Linked DNA regions of Homo sapiens: regions 1, 2 and 3 are each linked to region 4. The links are contacts of gene promoters, found by promoter capture Hi-C in blood cells and fetal thymus (Javierre and others, 2016). All regions are on one chromosome and are shown on one strand. The core of a region is centred on a gene start or on the middle of the fragment in contact, and the rest is flanking DNA. Distances in the headings are between cores, read along the strand shown.

Evidence for each region. The method cuts DNA at HindIII sites, captures the fragments that hold promoters and counts their contacts. A CHiCAGO score of 5 or more calls a contact.
Region 1: a contact is called between a fragment that was not itself captured here and the fragment with the promoter of PLEKHH1 in region 4, in 3 of 17 cell types (M1 macrophages, naive CD8 T cells and M0 macrophages). The highest score is 5.9, in M1 macrophages.
Region 2: a fragment that was not itself captured here is called in contact with the fragment with the promoter of PLEKHH1 in region 4 in 7 of 17 cell types (M0 macrophages, naive CD4 T cells, M1 macrophages and 4 more); the score reaches 6.5 in M0 macrophages.
Region 3: a fragment that was not itself captured here is called in contact with the fragment with the promoter of PLEKHH1 in region 4 in 16 of 17 cell types (naive B cells, total B cells, M2 macrophages and 13 more); the score reaches 14.3 in naive B cells.

The regions. Positions count from the first base shown.
Region 1 is chr14:67,446,931-67,450,521 of GRCh38, forward strand. It overlaps a transcript of GPHN not described here. Among named protein-coding and RNA genes, the nearest start is that of MIR5694, 6.8 kb to the left of the region's middle. The HindIII fragment of the contact is 1,408 bases long and covers 1,026-2,433 here.
Region 2 is chr14:67,464,017-67,467,731 of GRCh38, forward strand. LOC105370542 (a long non-coding RNA gene) reads right to left here. Exons shown (of 3, transcript XR_007064213.1): 2 at 1-3,715. It also overlaps a transcript of GPHN not described here. Among named protein-coding and RNA genes, the nearest start is that of TMEM229B, 23 kb to the right of the region's middle. The HindIII fragment of the contact is 1,281 bases long and covers 844-2,124 here.
Region 3 is chr14:67,430,051-67,433,824 of GRCh38, forward strand. It overlaps a transcript of GPHN not described here. Among named protein-coding and RNA genes, the nearest start is that of MIR5694, 10 kb to the right of the region's middle. The HindIII fragment of the contact is 3,254 bases long and covers 755-3,774 here.
Region 4 is chr14:67,530,998-67,534,713 of GRCh38, forward strand. PLEKHH1 (pleckstrin homology, MyTH4 and FERM domain containing H1) reads left to right here and starts at 2,293. Exons shown (of 29, transcript NM_020715.3): 1 at 2,293-2,401. It also overlaps a transcript of GPHN not described here and a transcript of TMEM229B not described here. RefSeq lists a silencer at 1,917-2,386. The HindIII fragment of the contact is 32,076 bases long and covers 1-3,716 here.

The DNA of each region.
Region 1 (3,591 bases), core at 480-2,979, 85 kb before region 4:
TTTACGCTGCAGTGGCAGGGTTGGGTAGTCACACAGGGACTACAGAGCCTAAAATATTTACTGCCTGGCTGGCCCCTAAATTAGATAAGGAAGTCCATATGGGGAGTGTCTTAGTCTGTTTACACTGCTTTAATGAAATACCACAAACTAGGTGGTTTATAAACAACAGAAATTTATTTCTCACAGTTCTGGAGACTGAGAAGGACAAGATTGAGGTATCGGCAGGTTCAGTGTCTGGCAAGGGCTCACTTCCTGGTTCAAAGATAGCACCTTCTGCTGTGTCCTTACATGGTGAGATGAGGGGATCTCTCTCAGGCCTAATTCACAAGGGCACTAATCTCATTCTCAAATATTCCACCCTCATGACCTAATCACCTCCCCAAGCCCCACTTCCTAATACCATCAGCTTGGAGGTTAAAGTTTAAACATAAATTTGGGGGGAACACAAACATTCACACTATAGCAGGAAGATTTGAATTTAAAGCAATTCAAGTGAAAAAGATAAAGAAAAAAAGAAGATGAAAGATTATTATTTAGCTTGCATTAATAGCATTATGATAGTAAGACAAAGACTGTGTTAGATAGGTAGGTCTCTTTTAGATGTAGGTGATGAAAAGTAATAGAAAACTAGCTCAGCACAGGAGGGATATATTGGGAGGGTGACCAGGAGAAGGCAGATGAGCCTCAGGACCACTTCTCCTATAGCCACTTCTCGCTTGGTACAGACCGGCTTCTGTGAGTGGCAAAAAAATGGCTATGGCAAGGTTCTCGTCACTAGTTTGCTCCTTTTCACCAATCTTGGTCTTTTCTATTTTTTCTCAGCACATGGAAAGATGATATGTCCTAGCCTGCCCTACAGTTAAGTGAGGCTATGGATTGAAATCTGGCGAATGTGGGTGGAAGTGAGCTGCATCACTTTCAGACAGTGGCCATTAGAGCTGGGGAGGCTTCTTCATGCCCTCGCCCACCCCTTCATTCCTTCCACTCTCTACCTTGCATCTGGAAGTGAAAGAGTAAGATGACAAAGCTTCAGAATAGCAGGATCTTAGATCCCTGAATCACCACTTGGGGGAGAGCTTCCCAGGAAACCTGCCGAACCCCATCAAATTTTGCATGAGAAAGAAATACGTTTTTATTGGATTAAGCCACTAACATTTCAGGTTTGATTCATTTCTTACCATAGCCCATTCTTTTTTTTTTTTTTTTTTTTTTTTTTTTTTTTTTTTGAGACGGAGTCTTGCTCTGTCACCCAGGCTGGAGTGCAATACTGCAATCTCGGCTCACTGCAACCTCCACCTCCCAGGTTCAAGCGATTCTCCTGCCTCAGCCTCCTGAGTAGCTGGGATTACAGGTGTGTGCCACCATGCCTGGCTAATTTTTTTTGTATTTTTAGTAGAGACAGGGTTTCACCATGTTAATCAGGATGGATATCATAGCCCATTCTATATTGATCAATGTAGCTACCAATTGCTGTTGAATTGTATATTTTACCATTTCAGTCACCAGAGAGGTATTCAAAAACAAACATCCCTATAAATGAATTGATTGGAGCAGCTTAAATTTGGTGCCAACCTCTTAGCCAACCAGCTGGCCTTGGGAACAGAATCATAGGTGAGTGTGGCAGCCCCTACAAGGACTGCATGGGTGAAGTTTGGGGAAGGGGGATGGTTTGCAGTTTCCAGAAGGAAGCCTGGAGGGATGGTGGGGGGCTGTGGAGGGGAGAGAGAGCAAAGGGAGACTACAGACAATAATGCTGCCCTACTGATCACAAACACTTCAGTGTCACGCTCTCAGCATAGTATTTTAAATGGAATCCTGAGTCAGGATTCCTGACAAATCCATTAGAACAGACTGGAAACAGAGGGAGTAGGGCAATGAGGAAAAGGCCTTAAGAAGCCTTAAAGAACCTTGACCTAAGAGGTAGAATTGGAGGAAGTGGGGCTATTTAATCTTGAAAATAGAAGACTTGGCAGGAACACAGTGATTCTCTTCATGGCTGTGAAAGACCATCCCATGAGGGGAATACTGTGACACTCCAAAGGGCCAAACTAGGCGTGGAAGGTGTCACGACAGAAAAGTCAGATTGTAGCCCAACTTCAGGAGGAGCTTCTGTCCATGATAGCCAACCAGGAAGGGCCCAGACCCTTTTAGGAAGGGAGAAGCTGGCATCATGAGGACACACCAGCCAATTCTGCTCAGACTGCTGAAGATGGGATTCCTGCATTTTTGGACTGCTTGTTCTATCTGCACATTCCTCTCCAATACTAAGAGTCTGAAAATTAACTTAAATTGGTCATTCAGTCTGGCCAAGAGGATCCAGGAGGTGCTAACTGCAGCCGAGGCCAAATGAGCTCTACTGTGAAGGAGGATAGAGGCTGCATTGGATATGATCCACTTGTCCAGAAGCCAGCCTCTGCCCTCTCAGAGCCCAGAAGCTTTAGAAGAGGGTTGTGGTAGGCACTCGGGAGGGCCTGGGAAAGATGCTCTTTCATGGCACTCTTGTCACTGATCCTTGAACCCAAGGCTAGAAGGCAGGGTGTGGGGAAGTGGGGTGGCAAGGAGGAGGGAGTCTCCTGACAATGGTCCCCTGTATCTTGTAGGCTGACAGGCAGGGACAACACACACTCAGAAACAATGCAGAGGCTCAGATAGTGCTATGTGGTATAGCATCAAGGCCTTCTCCCATCATTTGCCAGTTGAGGCCTAATATGGTTTGGCTCTGTGTTCCCACCCAAATCTCATCTTGTAGCTCCCATAATTCCCATGTATTGTGGGAGGAACCCAGTGGGAGATGACTGAATCATGGGGGTGGGTATTTCTCGTGCTGTTCTTGTGATAGTGAATGGGTCTCACGAGATCTGATGGTTTTAAAAAATAGGAGTTTTGGCCCAGTGCGGTGGCTCATGCCTGTAATCCCAGCACTTTGGGAGGCAGGCAGATCACCTGATTTCAGGGGTTTGAGACCAGCCTGACCAATATGGAGAAACCCCTTGTGGAGGCACATACCTGTAATCTCAGCTACTTGGGAGGCTGAGGCAGGAGAATTGCTTGAACCCGGGAGGCAGAGGTTGCAGTGAGCTGAGATCGTGCCATTGCACTCCAGCCTGGGCAACAAGAGCAAAAACTCTGTCTCAAACAAACAAACAAACAAACAAAACGGGAGATGTTCTGCACAATCTCTTTTTTTTTTTTTGCCTGCTGCCGTCCATGTAAGATGTGACTTGCTTCTCCTTGCCTTCCGCCATGATTGTGAGGCGTTCCCAGCCATATGGAACTGTAAGTCATTAAACCTCTTTCTTTTGTAAATTGCCCAGTCTCAGGTATGTCTTTATCAGCAGCATGAAAATGGACTAAATACAGTAAATTGGTACCAGTAGAGTGGGGCACTGCTGAAAAGATACCCAAAAATGTGGAAGTGACTTTGGAACTGGGTAACAGGCAGAGGTTGGAACAGTCTGGAGGGCTCAGAAGAAGACAGAAAAATGAGGGAAAGTTTGGAACTTCCTAGAGACTTGTTGAATGGCTTTGCCTAAAATGATGATAGTGATATGGACAATAAAGTCAGGCTGAGGTGGTCTCAGATGGAAATGA
Region 2 (3,715 bases), core at 234-2,733, 68 kb before region 4:
GGCCCAGCTCACAGAGGTTAGTGTGCATGAGGTGGCGCAGGGTGTGTGTATGTGTGAGAGTGTGTGTGTGTGTGTATGTGAGACAGAGAGAAAGAGAGCAGCCCTGCACCTGCACCACCTGGCCTGGTGCAATCTACCCCAGGGTAGGAGTGCTTATGTAGTAGGTACAGAGAAAGTTTTGCCAAAACAAAACAGATCCATATTTCCAGTCCCGCTGACCGCAATCCATGACCTCTGAGAGAACAGGATGGAGGCTAAGGGTACCTGGGACCCCAGGCTCTCCCTGCAGCCTCCCCTGGCCTGTGCCCCCATCCTCAGAATGGGGTTTCCTGGAAGGGGCTGGGTGAGGCCCCACAGGTCTTCCTTAAAAGCACTCCATCACCCTCTGTCCATCACATCCATCACCCTCTGTCCCCCTGCCCCCACCCTCCAGAGCCCTACAGGCTCTGACCCCTGCCTGCTTCTCTCACCTGCATCCTGTACTCCTCCTCACCCTCGCCCCCACCACGCAGCAGCCACACCAGCCTTTTATCTGTACCTCAAACTCTTCGAGCTCATTCGCATCTTTGCCTCTTGTACCAGCTGTTTCCTCTGCACAAAACACTCTCCCTGCACCTTCACAGGGGGACTGTCATCACGATCCAGGCTTCAGACTAAATAGCATCTCTTCTGGCAGACCTTTTGGGGCTACCCAGTCTAGAGAAGCTCCCTATTCATTTGCACACCACCCTGTTTTAATTGTATCACGATCTGTTATTTTCGCAAGTTCTGTTCTCTGTGTGTTCTCAGCCTTCACACATGCTGTGCTTTCAACCTGGAGTGCCTGCTCTTCACCTCACCTCAAGCTTCACCCCCTGTCCTGGCTAAATCAGACACAGAAATATTTCCTGATCTCCCCTTCTAGATCTGGGTTAATCCCTCTTTCCCTAACAGTGAGCCATCGGAGTTGTCGGCACCCTGTAATTCCACTGAAGTCATCCTACAGCAAGGACACAGGAATCTGTCTTGCTCCCTGCTGTGCCACAGGCCTAGCGCAGGGAGGTCCTGGTGCACAGCAGGTGAATGGATGACCAAAGTCAGCTGCGTTGACAACACTGGAAGAATGTAGCCACTCTGCTGGTGACCGGCACACAGAGGGCTTCCAGGCGCCAGGACTGGGTTTGTAAACTGAAGGCAGAGCGAGGGGAAGCTCCACGGAGATAGAAACCAATGTTGCCAGCTTTAAGTGAGCTCATCAGTCTCCAGTTGGGCTAAGAGGAGAAAGAGTGTTCCAGGGAGAGGTAACATAGGGGCCGAAGGCCCAGAGGCAGTGAACGGGAGCTGCAGGGAGAACTACAAGTCAGTCTCCCTGGATGGCACAGGGCTGGGGCAGAGGCGAGAAATGAGGCCAAACCACAAAAGGTTTGTAAGCCTCGCTAAGGTGTCGAGCTTGATCCTTAGGGTAATGGGAAATCATTAAAGAGTCTGAAGTAGGGAGTGAAATGGTCAGATCTGCATCTAAACAGAAACTTCACAACAGGTACAGGTATATCTTGGGATGCCTAAATCCTTGCGTTCCCTCCCAGATGACCACACACTGTGCTTCCAGCTTTCACTCCTCATGGAATTCCTAAGTGGGTACAAAATGCAAGGGCTTCAGCAGAAATCTGCTTCTCGACCCCTATACTGGGTTGAATGGTGGCCCACCAAAAAGATGTAGCCACGTCCAAGCCCCCTGAAGCTGTGAATGTTACCTTATTTTGAAAAGGGGTCTTTGCAGTTGTAATTAAGGATCTTAAGATGAGATCATCCTGGATTACCCGGGTGGGCCCTACATGCAATGGTAAGTGTCTTTTTAAGAGACAGAAGAGGAGGAGGCCATGTGACCACAGTGGCAGAAATGGGAGTGATGCTGCCACAAGCCTAGGAAGCCAAGGATTGCCGGCAGCCACCAGAGACTGGAAGAGGCAAGGCCAGATCCTCCCCTAAAGCCTCAGAGGAGATGCAGCCTGCTGATGCCTTGATTTGACTTCTGCCTTCCAGAAGTGTGACAGAACACAGTTCCATTGTTTAGAGCTACTCATTTTGTGGTAATTTGTTACAGCAGTCCTAGGACACTGATACAACCCCATACTTTAACTAAGAAGCTTCAGCCCCAGGACCCTTCGCCATCTGGTGGACCCTTCTAAACCAGAAAACTTCCTTTCTGTTTGGAAGCTGTAATTGTGACAGAGGCAAAGAGCCAGACCATATCATCTGCGGATCTCCTTCTCTGTAATGTTTGGCACTAAAAGGCTACCTTTGCCCAAACCAAGAAAGTGTATTACCAGAATGAAACAATGGGTGGATCAGTGGAGCTGGGTCTTTGGCCAAGGCCGGAAGACTCTAAGAGGGAAATGCTGGCAGGGCTCTGCAGGGATTAATGGTTTGGAAAGAGGGAGGAGGACAGTGAGCTGCTCTATGGTGGTGGGCACAGAAATGGCATGGATGGTTGTTGTCTAAATAGATTCCTAGCTTCAAGTTCCCAAAAGAGCCTGGGAACTGGTGTTCTGGAACACTCAGCCTGGCCTTTAGGGTGGGTTCACTAAGACTCCACTTGTCAAGAGTTTCTTAAAGCACTCACTACGTGCTTCCTTTGTTCGGCACTGTACCCAGCTAGGCACCTTGCAGGGCACAGTAAATGTCTGCACTTCTGGACAATAAGATTCCAGCCTGGGCCAGGCACAGTGGCTCACCCCTGTAATCTCAACATGTTGGGAGGCCAAGGCAGGTGGATCACCTGAGGTCAGGAGCTCAAGACTAGCCTGGCCAACATGGCAAAACCCCATCTCTATTAAAAATACAAAATAATTAGCCGAGCATGGTGGCACGGGCCTGTAATCCCAGCTACTCAGGAGGCTGAGGCAGGAGAATCACCTGAACCCGGGAGGTGGAGGTTGCAGTGAGCCGAGATCGCGCCACTGCACTCCAGCCTGGGCGACAGAGGGGGACCCAATCTCAAAAAAAAAAAAAAAAAAAAAAGACTCCAGCCTATCTCTGAAAGTATCAGTAATCAACCTATCAACCTTTGAGTGTGTGAAAAGTGTCTCTTCCTGGAAGAATCCTTACCCAACCCCGTAGACAGCCAGGGTCCTCTGTTAGAGCTTCTTTTCTGGAGGATTGGTCAACGTTGTAATGTTATGGGCTTCCCTTCAACATCTTCAGCATCACAGGAACTAGCCTGGTCCTTGGCTCACTGCAGGTATCTAATAAGGAGTTGATGAGTTAAACAGGTCAGTTCTCAGTCCTATCTGGGTTTTCAGAAGGCACCAGCAGAAGGTTCTTATCTTGTTAGGAGAAAGGTTTCAGCTGGTAGTTTCAAACACTCTGAAGGTACTGACAGCCAGGGGCCCAGGTTTCATGCCAAGACAAGGAAATAGGATGAAAGAGAAAAGGCCCAGGGCAAAAAGAAGGCTGTGGGTGGGAAGGAGGGAGGGAGGGGAGAGGGTATCAAGGCTAAACTCAGCATTGGTAGAGGCCACAATTTCACAGCTCTCCTCCACTAGGCGGGATCTTTGTGCCAATTGTCTTAAGTCTTGGCTAAGACAGCATTCTACACCTCCTTTCTTATAACTCCCTCTCTCTCCCTTCCATCCCATTCCCAAACATTTTAATTTAACTGCAAATAGCACCCACATGAGCTGGACTCAAAAGGCATCCAGAAACTCATCAAGTACAAAGGGGTATTGGACTCACC
Region 3 (3,774 bases), core at 1,132-3,631, 100 kb before region 4:
GCACACAAGGGAATCACAAGCACTCTGATAAAACTCCTGCGAGAGGAGCCCGAACCTGGCTATGCCTTGGTTGGAGCTGAGGCACGGGTACGATGGGACATGGAGACAGGCCACAATCACACATTCCAGTCCCCTCCACAAAACCACAGAGCTTGGATGACATGGACCCAGATTTCCCTGGGACAGAGCTTGAACCCTGTATACTCAGGTTCATCTATACAGAGTCAGGCTGGGAAGGGTAGATTATAGGGAATAACATACGGGCCTAGGGAGGAAAAATACCCACTGTAAGTTAGGAAGGATCCAGGCCTAGGGGACAAGGTGGCTCTTGTTCCTGTGCAAGCCTGTGCCGGACCCACGCCTGGTCCCCTGGAATGCCTGGGTGCTCTCAAGGGGAGGGCTGTATGGTAAAGCAGAAAGAGCCTTCCCACGTGGGCTCACGTGACTTTGCTATAAGCCCTCCATCCTAAGGAAAGAAGAAGCAGGAGTGCTTTCTCAACTGGCAGAGTGGTGACCGAGTGGAGTGTCACATCAACTGGTGTCAATGGCATCACGGGGATAAGATCTGGAGGAGGCAGGTGGCAACGGGGCCTGTGGAGTGGAGTCTTGGTGGAGGGGCTGGGCAGTGAGTGACCGGTGCAATATCAGGCGCTGCCCCAGGACATTGACTTGATGAAAGGCCCAGAGACCTCAGGACTTTGGAGGGCCTGCTCATCAGTAAGGGGCAGAGAGCTCCTCATTAAGTGGACCACAAAGCTTAACGTCCCATTCTGATCCCCTGAGGATTCTGTGATCAAAGCAGTCCCTTCCTGCTGTGACTTTGGTATGAGCATAAAGCCTCAAAGTGTGCAGGGCTGGGGATCGGGGCACCAGCTTCCCAAATACGCCTTTGTGTTTACATACAATCCTATAGGTGCCCCAACAACCTGGCAGGAGAGTCCCTATTCTCTCTAGATTTCAGAAAGACAAATCAAACCATGGGAAATCCATGGCAGGCATGAACAGCTAATTCTAGTTCACCAAATCTGGGCTAACAAGAGCAGATAAAAAGGGTTCAGCATAGGCTGGGCGTGGTGGCTCACGCCTGTAATCCCAGCACTTTGGGAGGCCGAGGCGGGTGGATCACGAGGTCAGGAGTTCGAGACCAGCCTGACCAACATAGTGAAACCCCATCTCTACTAAAAATACAAAAATTAGCTGGGCATGGTGGCGCTTGCCTGTATCCCAGCTACTCGGCAGGCTGAGGCAGGAGAATTGCTTGAACCTGGGAGGCGGAGGTTGCAGTGAGCCGAGATCGCGCCACTGCACTCCAGCCTGGGTGACAGAGTGAGACTCTGTCTCAAAAAAAAAAAAAAAAAAAAAAAAAAAAAACGGTTTAGTGTAATCCCAGCATTTTGGGAGGCCAAAGTAGGAGAATCGCTTGAGCCCAGGAGTTTGAGACCAGCCTGGGCAACATTATGAGACCCCATCCCTACCCAAAACATTTTAAAAATTAGCCCAGTGTTGTGGCACACATCTGTGGTCCCAGCTACTCTGGAGGCTGAGGTGGGAGGATCGCTTGAGCCCAGGAGGTCCAGGCTGCAGTGAGCTGAGATGCCACCATTGCACTCCAGCTGGGGTGACAGAGTGAGACCCCAACTCAACAACAGCAGCAGCAGCAGCAGCAGACCAAAACAGCGGCAAAAAAGGTTGGGGAAATGTGAGCTGGGTTGTGTCCCAGAAGCTCCCACATGGAAACTGGGGTGGGGGAAGGGAACAGAGGTTTCCGCAGGGGGCAGTCAGTGCCCATACTCTAGATGTCATCTTTGGGTGAGCTTGGAACTGGAGCACAATTTTATCTACTTTTTCTTCTTCATTTTGCATATTAAAATCTTTTAATAGGATAAAAAGCAAACATCTTTATTTAATGTGTTCATGTTGCGCTCACAGTGATTACCCTTAAATTTTTTAACATATTCTTTTCAATATGTACATGAAAATGTCACATAGAACAAAATGGAATATAGTGAGAAGTGTGTCTCTCCTGCCCCACAGGCAGCCACTATGAATTGGTAACATCTGCCCAGTGCTTTCCAGCTTAAAGAATGTGTGCTCATAAATTATCTCGTCGGATCCCAGCAACAACTCCCTAAGATATGTTGGCCCTAAATCATTATTGTCTCCACTTACAGATGGGAAATCCAGCTCCAAGAGGTTAAATGATCTGCCCAGAGTTAGGCATCTAAAGAATGGCAGGACCAAGATTTAGACCCTGGTGGTCAGAGCCCAACTTCTGAAGCCTTTGAATTACACCACACTGCCTTCCTTGGCGAACGAGCCCTGGTTCTTAGAACCTGGAATGTGCCATAAATAGTTCGCCTTCTGCAAAGAGAGACTTGCAGTTGGTCAGGAAACAGAAAAATATCTCCTGTCTTGAGTATTTACCTTCCAGAATGGACTGTTCATTCTCTGCTCTGAGACACGTTTACAAGGACACCTCTCTTCTGTGTTTTAGAGCATCGTACCTTTAAAAGTCAGCAGCGGGCAAGCTCTCAGGACAGACTATGTGAAGAGCCTGGTGTTCTAGGGCTGCCATGACAAATTGCCACAAACTGTGGGGCTGAAATAAACAGAAATGTATTCTCTCATGTTCAGGAGGACAGAAGTCCGAAACCAAGGTGTTGGCAGAGTTGGTTCTTTCTGGAAGCTCTGAGGGAGAATCTCGGGCTTCTCTGCTGCCTTATGGTGGTTGCCGGCAACCTGGGTGGTCCTGGGTTTGTAGGGGCATCACTCCAATCTCTGTTTTGGTGGTCGCATGTGGTGTTTTCCCTGTCTGTGTGTCTTTGTTTTCTCTTTTATAAAGTTCCCAGTCATTTGATTTAGGGCCCACCCTCATCTAGGTATGACCTCATTTTAAGTAATTATGTCTGCAGAGACCCTGTTTCCACATAAGGTCACATTCTGAGCTTCTTGTTGAGCTTGAATGTTAAGGAGACACCATTCAACGTAGTCCTCTCTGTTTTTCTGTTTTGTTCAATAAATAGGGAGGGCACTTTTAGAACATTCTGACTCTTCCTTAACCAGCCATGTCCCAACCCAGGAAGTTGATGCCCATCTTACAAGGAGGGCCAGAAAAAGGGAACAAGGCACACAGAGGTATCCTCAGAGCTGATGGATGGCTGCTGGCAGATGCCCAGAAACAGGTGCTGGGCCTGGAGGGTGGAAGTATATACCATGGTAGCTACATGGTTTGGTGTCAAAATACTTGTATTTTAGTGAGCATGAGAATGAGAGTAAGAGTGGGACAGAGAGAAGAGAAAAGGGAGGGAGAAAGATGGCTTATTCACACACAAAAATTTAGTGGTTCAGAATTAATTTAACTTGGAATAAATGATTTTTTTTTCAAAGAAAATTTTAAAGTTGGAGGTATAGAGGAAAACGTGAAAGAATACAGAGATGTACTTTGATCCTAATTGTGAAGTCTAAATAGTTAAAACTAAAATGGAATATAAAGACAAATGAGACGCATCCTATAATTCAACAACAACAACAACAACAAACCCATTAAAACTCATCGGGAGTATGAATGGACAAAATATCAAAAAAATTTTTGTGGGGGAAAAAGAAGGAGGAGGGTAAACTTAAAAAAGCAGTCATCACTATATTTCACTGGGGTAAAGACAAGAAAAGTTGGCCAGGGTAATAGAAGAGACATACTCTACAGAAACAAATTCAAGCTATTTAAAGACTTGATATAAGATGAATAAGCATCAACACAATGCTACAAGAAAGAAT
Region 4 (3,716 bases), core at 1,043-3,542:
ATCTTCTTTCACAAGAATGCCCTAGCATATCCTTCAACTCAGGCACATGATGGCTTTTCTTCCCATCTCTCTGTTCCATCCTCCATTCTCCTTTGTCAGGTCACTTGTAATAATAAGCTAATATCCAAAGAAAGGGGCTCTAGGGGTGATGGTGGGTATTATAGTCCCAGCTACCTGGGAGGCTGAGGCAGAAGGACTGCTTGAGCCTAGGAGTTCTGGGCTGCAATGAGCTATGATTGCCACTGCATTCTAGCTTAGGCAACAGAGCAAGATCTTATCTCTTAAAAGAAAACAACAACAACAACAAAAGTTGTAACTTGCCCAAGTCACATAGCTAAAAAGTGGAAGAGACATAACTGAAACTCAAGCCTCCTAAATTCCTAATGTAGGGTTCAGTCCACCTCTACCACCCTCCCACAGACTGCCAAGGGGTCCTGCTCAGAGTTGGGCAATGGTGAGATGCACTCTATGGCCCCAAACTCATTGAAAGTAACAACTGAGCTGAAAAAAATGTGGAGTCTCTTCTGCCCTCTACAGAAGTAACCAGCTATAGGGGAGAGCATGCTCCTCCCATTCCACTCTCCATGGTGCGTCTCTTTTCACTATATAACAAAGTTATATTAAATGAGTTCTGGGCCGAGGTGCGGTGGCTCATCCCTGTAATCCCAGCACTTTGGGAGGCCGAGGCAGGAGGATTTCTTGAGTCCAGGAGTTTGAGACCCCACCTCTACTAAAAAAAAAAAAAAATTTTTTTTTTTTTTTTTGCTGGGTATAGTAGCATGTGCCTATAGTCCCAGCTGTTCATGAGGCTGAGATGGGAGGATTGCTTGAGCCCAGGAGTTCAAGTTACAGTGAGCTATGATTGTGCCACTGCAATCCAGCCTGGAGAACAGAACAAGAAGAACCTATGTCCAAAAAAAAAAAAAAAAAAAAAGTGAATGAATGAATTAATGTCTTCTTAGCAAAATCCAGAGAACGTGTTTTTGGGCTTCCTTATGCAACTTCTGGAATGTTGAAGTGGATAGCCTGAGCATTGTCCCACAAAATGGGGCTAATCTATCCCAATCCCCACGAGCTATAAAGCTGTTTGCAAGTTCAGCCATTGAAGTCCCATTGGCCCAGTTAAATTCTCACGTTTGGCCTCCTGCACTACCAGCTTTCCTTAGTGTCTGGGCTCTCAAAACTTCTACGTGAGAATGGCCTGGGGTACTTTAGTTAGAGATTCAGATTCAAACCCAGGGTGGGGGTGTTCTTCATGGTGCCTGGGATGAGTCTTCCAAGGACCATTTGGAGAAACAGGCGCTGATGGTATTTTGCTTCTGTTCAGTCCTTCACTGACAGAGAGCCTGCAGGGTTGAGGAAGAAGGCTCTGTTTTGAAGTGTGGATCCCTCCCTGCAATGGTCTCTATTTGCATCTTCTTTACTCCAGGCTCACCTAGCCAAATGTTGAGTTTTCCAACCCCTCTGGGTATGAGATTGCTTTGGGCGATCTGAGATCTGCAAATGTCTGAGAACGAGGAGCACATGGGCACGCTGATGACTGCCCTGCAAACTGCCTGGCAGCCAGGGTCCTCCTGGGCCCTCCTTTAAAATAACATATACATAAGCCGGCCTGGAGGCCCAGGCGGGAAGATCACTTGAGCTCCGGAGTTCGAGTCCAGCCTGGGCAACATAGCGAGACCAGAAAATAAGCAAGTAAGTTACTCTCTGGGCTGTCGTAACTTATTTTTTCTTTTTCTCCTGCAAATTGCAACTCAGAACATTTGGTCTGCCAGACTGAAATATGGACTTCTGTTCCAAATATCCAGACGTTACAGTTCCCACAGGTGGCCAGGAGAATGCTGGAACCTTTGGCGGAGACGGTCTGGTCTTGTCCCGCAGCCCGCGAGGGTCCCCCGCTATTTGGGGTCAAGCAGATCCCCGGGGCGCTCTGGCCACCCCTTGCGGCAGCTGGTGCGGCCTCCTCGGAGAGCTCCGGGCCGGCGCCCGGGACACCCCGCCGCCCTCCCTGCCGCCCCAGGGACGAGCCCAGCGGTGCGGAGAAGTGGGAGGCTGGAGCCTGCTGAGGTCATTTCCTGTGCCTCTCCGCGAGCTGCCTGGAGAGCTGAGCCCAGCGCTCTGCCTTTAAGGAGCGGGCGGGGAGCCGAGGGGAGGAGGGCGCCCGGCGGAGCGTTGAATGGGGCGCAGCAAGGCTCGGCCGGGCTTTGTGCAGCGAGCCCGCGGGCACCCCTCCCGCTCCAGCCTCGCCCCGCCCCGCAGCCCACGACCCCTGCTGCCGGGGAGGGGAGAACCGGCGGCAGCCCGGGACTCCGGCGAGAGCGACGCAAGGTCGGCTGCGGCGGCGGCCCGAGGGCGCCCGTGTGCCCAGTGCGCGGCGGGGACGGCCGCGAGCTCGCTGGAGGTGAGCGACCCGCGCTCCCGCCGCTGTGGTGGGCTGGGGCTGCGCCGCGGCGGAGGGCGTCAGGCTGCGCGCGGGGGACGGCCCCTCGGGCCCAGAGGACGATCCGGAGCAGGTGCCTCCCTACCTGGAAGCGAGCTCCCAGCGGCGGGGAGCGCTGGAGCGCGGGTCTGGCTTGGGAAGCCGGGCGCCCCAGGGGACTCGCGCCGCGAGGCCAGGAGGAGCCTCCCCCGGGAGTACCTGGACTTGGGGATCGGTCAGATCCAGCCGCTCCTGGGAAGGGCCCTCGGAGCGGACGTGCAGGCTGCCACCTTGCTATCGGTGCTCGCTCCCTTTCACCCCTTCCCGCACCCCTCCCCATCTCACCTCAGGTTATTTCTTCTGTGATTTCTGAGTGTTGTCTTTGGGACCCTATGGCTCAGGCTCGACTCCTAGGAGCAGGTCATTCAAGCAGAAAAGAAAACAGGTTGGGCGCCGAATGACACAGAGCATTGTGTCCTAGGAGTCTTAGCGAGGACTCGGTCACCAGGAACCAGGGGCCTTAGTGGGGGTGGCAGAGGCGGTGAAGAGCCTCATCTGGAAGGAAACTCCTCTCCTTGTGGGATTTCTGCTTGCCAGGATATCTCCTCCATAGCTTTTACTATGAATCCACCTCATAAAACTCTTCCAAGACAGAGCCTTGGTTCAGGTAAAACACTTGAAAGACCATTTAAAAAATTCAGTGGGAGAATTATCAGTTCCTTCATCAAACTGTTTGGACTGTCTTCTATGTGACAGACACTGTGTATAGGGCTAGTACCATCACTGAACGCTTTATAGAACATCGGTATTAGTGTTTCTGCATATTATTGGCCCCATTTTTCCAAAGGAGGAAGCTGGGACTCTGAAAAGTTGTGATTTAGGCCAGTTGCAGTGGCTTATGCCTGTAATCCCAGCACTTTGGGAAGCCAAGGCAGGAGGAGAGCTTGATGCCAGGAGTTCAAGACCAGCCTGGGCAACATAGGGAGACCCTGTGTCTACAAATAAATAAAAATTTAAAAATTAGCTGGGTGTGGTGGTGTGGGCCTGTAGTCCCAGCTAACTTGGGAGGCTGATGATCCTGTCTGTTAAAAAAAAAATTGTTGTGATATGCCCATGGTCACATAGCTAAAAAGTGGAAGAGCCATAACTGAAACCCAAGCCTCCTAAATTCCTAACGTATGGTTCAGTCCACTTCTACCACCTTCCCATAGACTGCTGAGGGGGCCTGCTCAGAGTTGGGCAATTGTGGGGTGCAGCCTGTGGCCCCAAACTCATTGAAACTAACAACTAAGCTGAA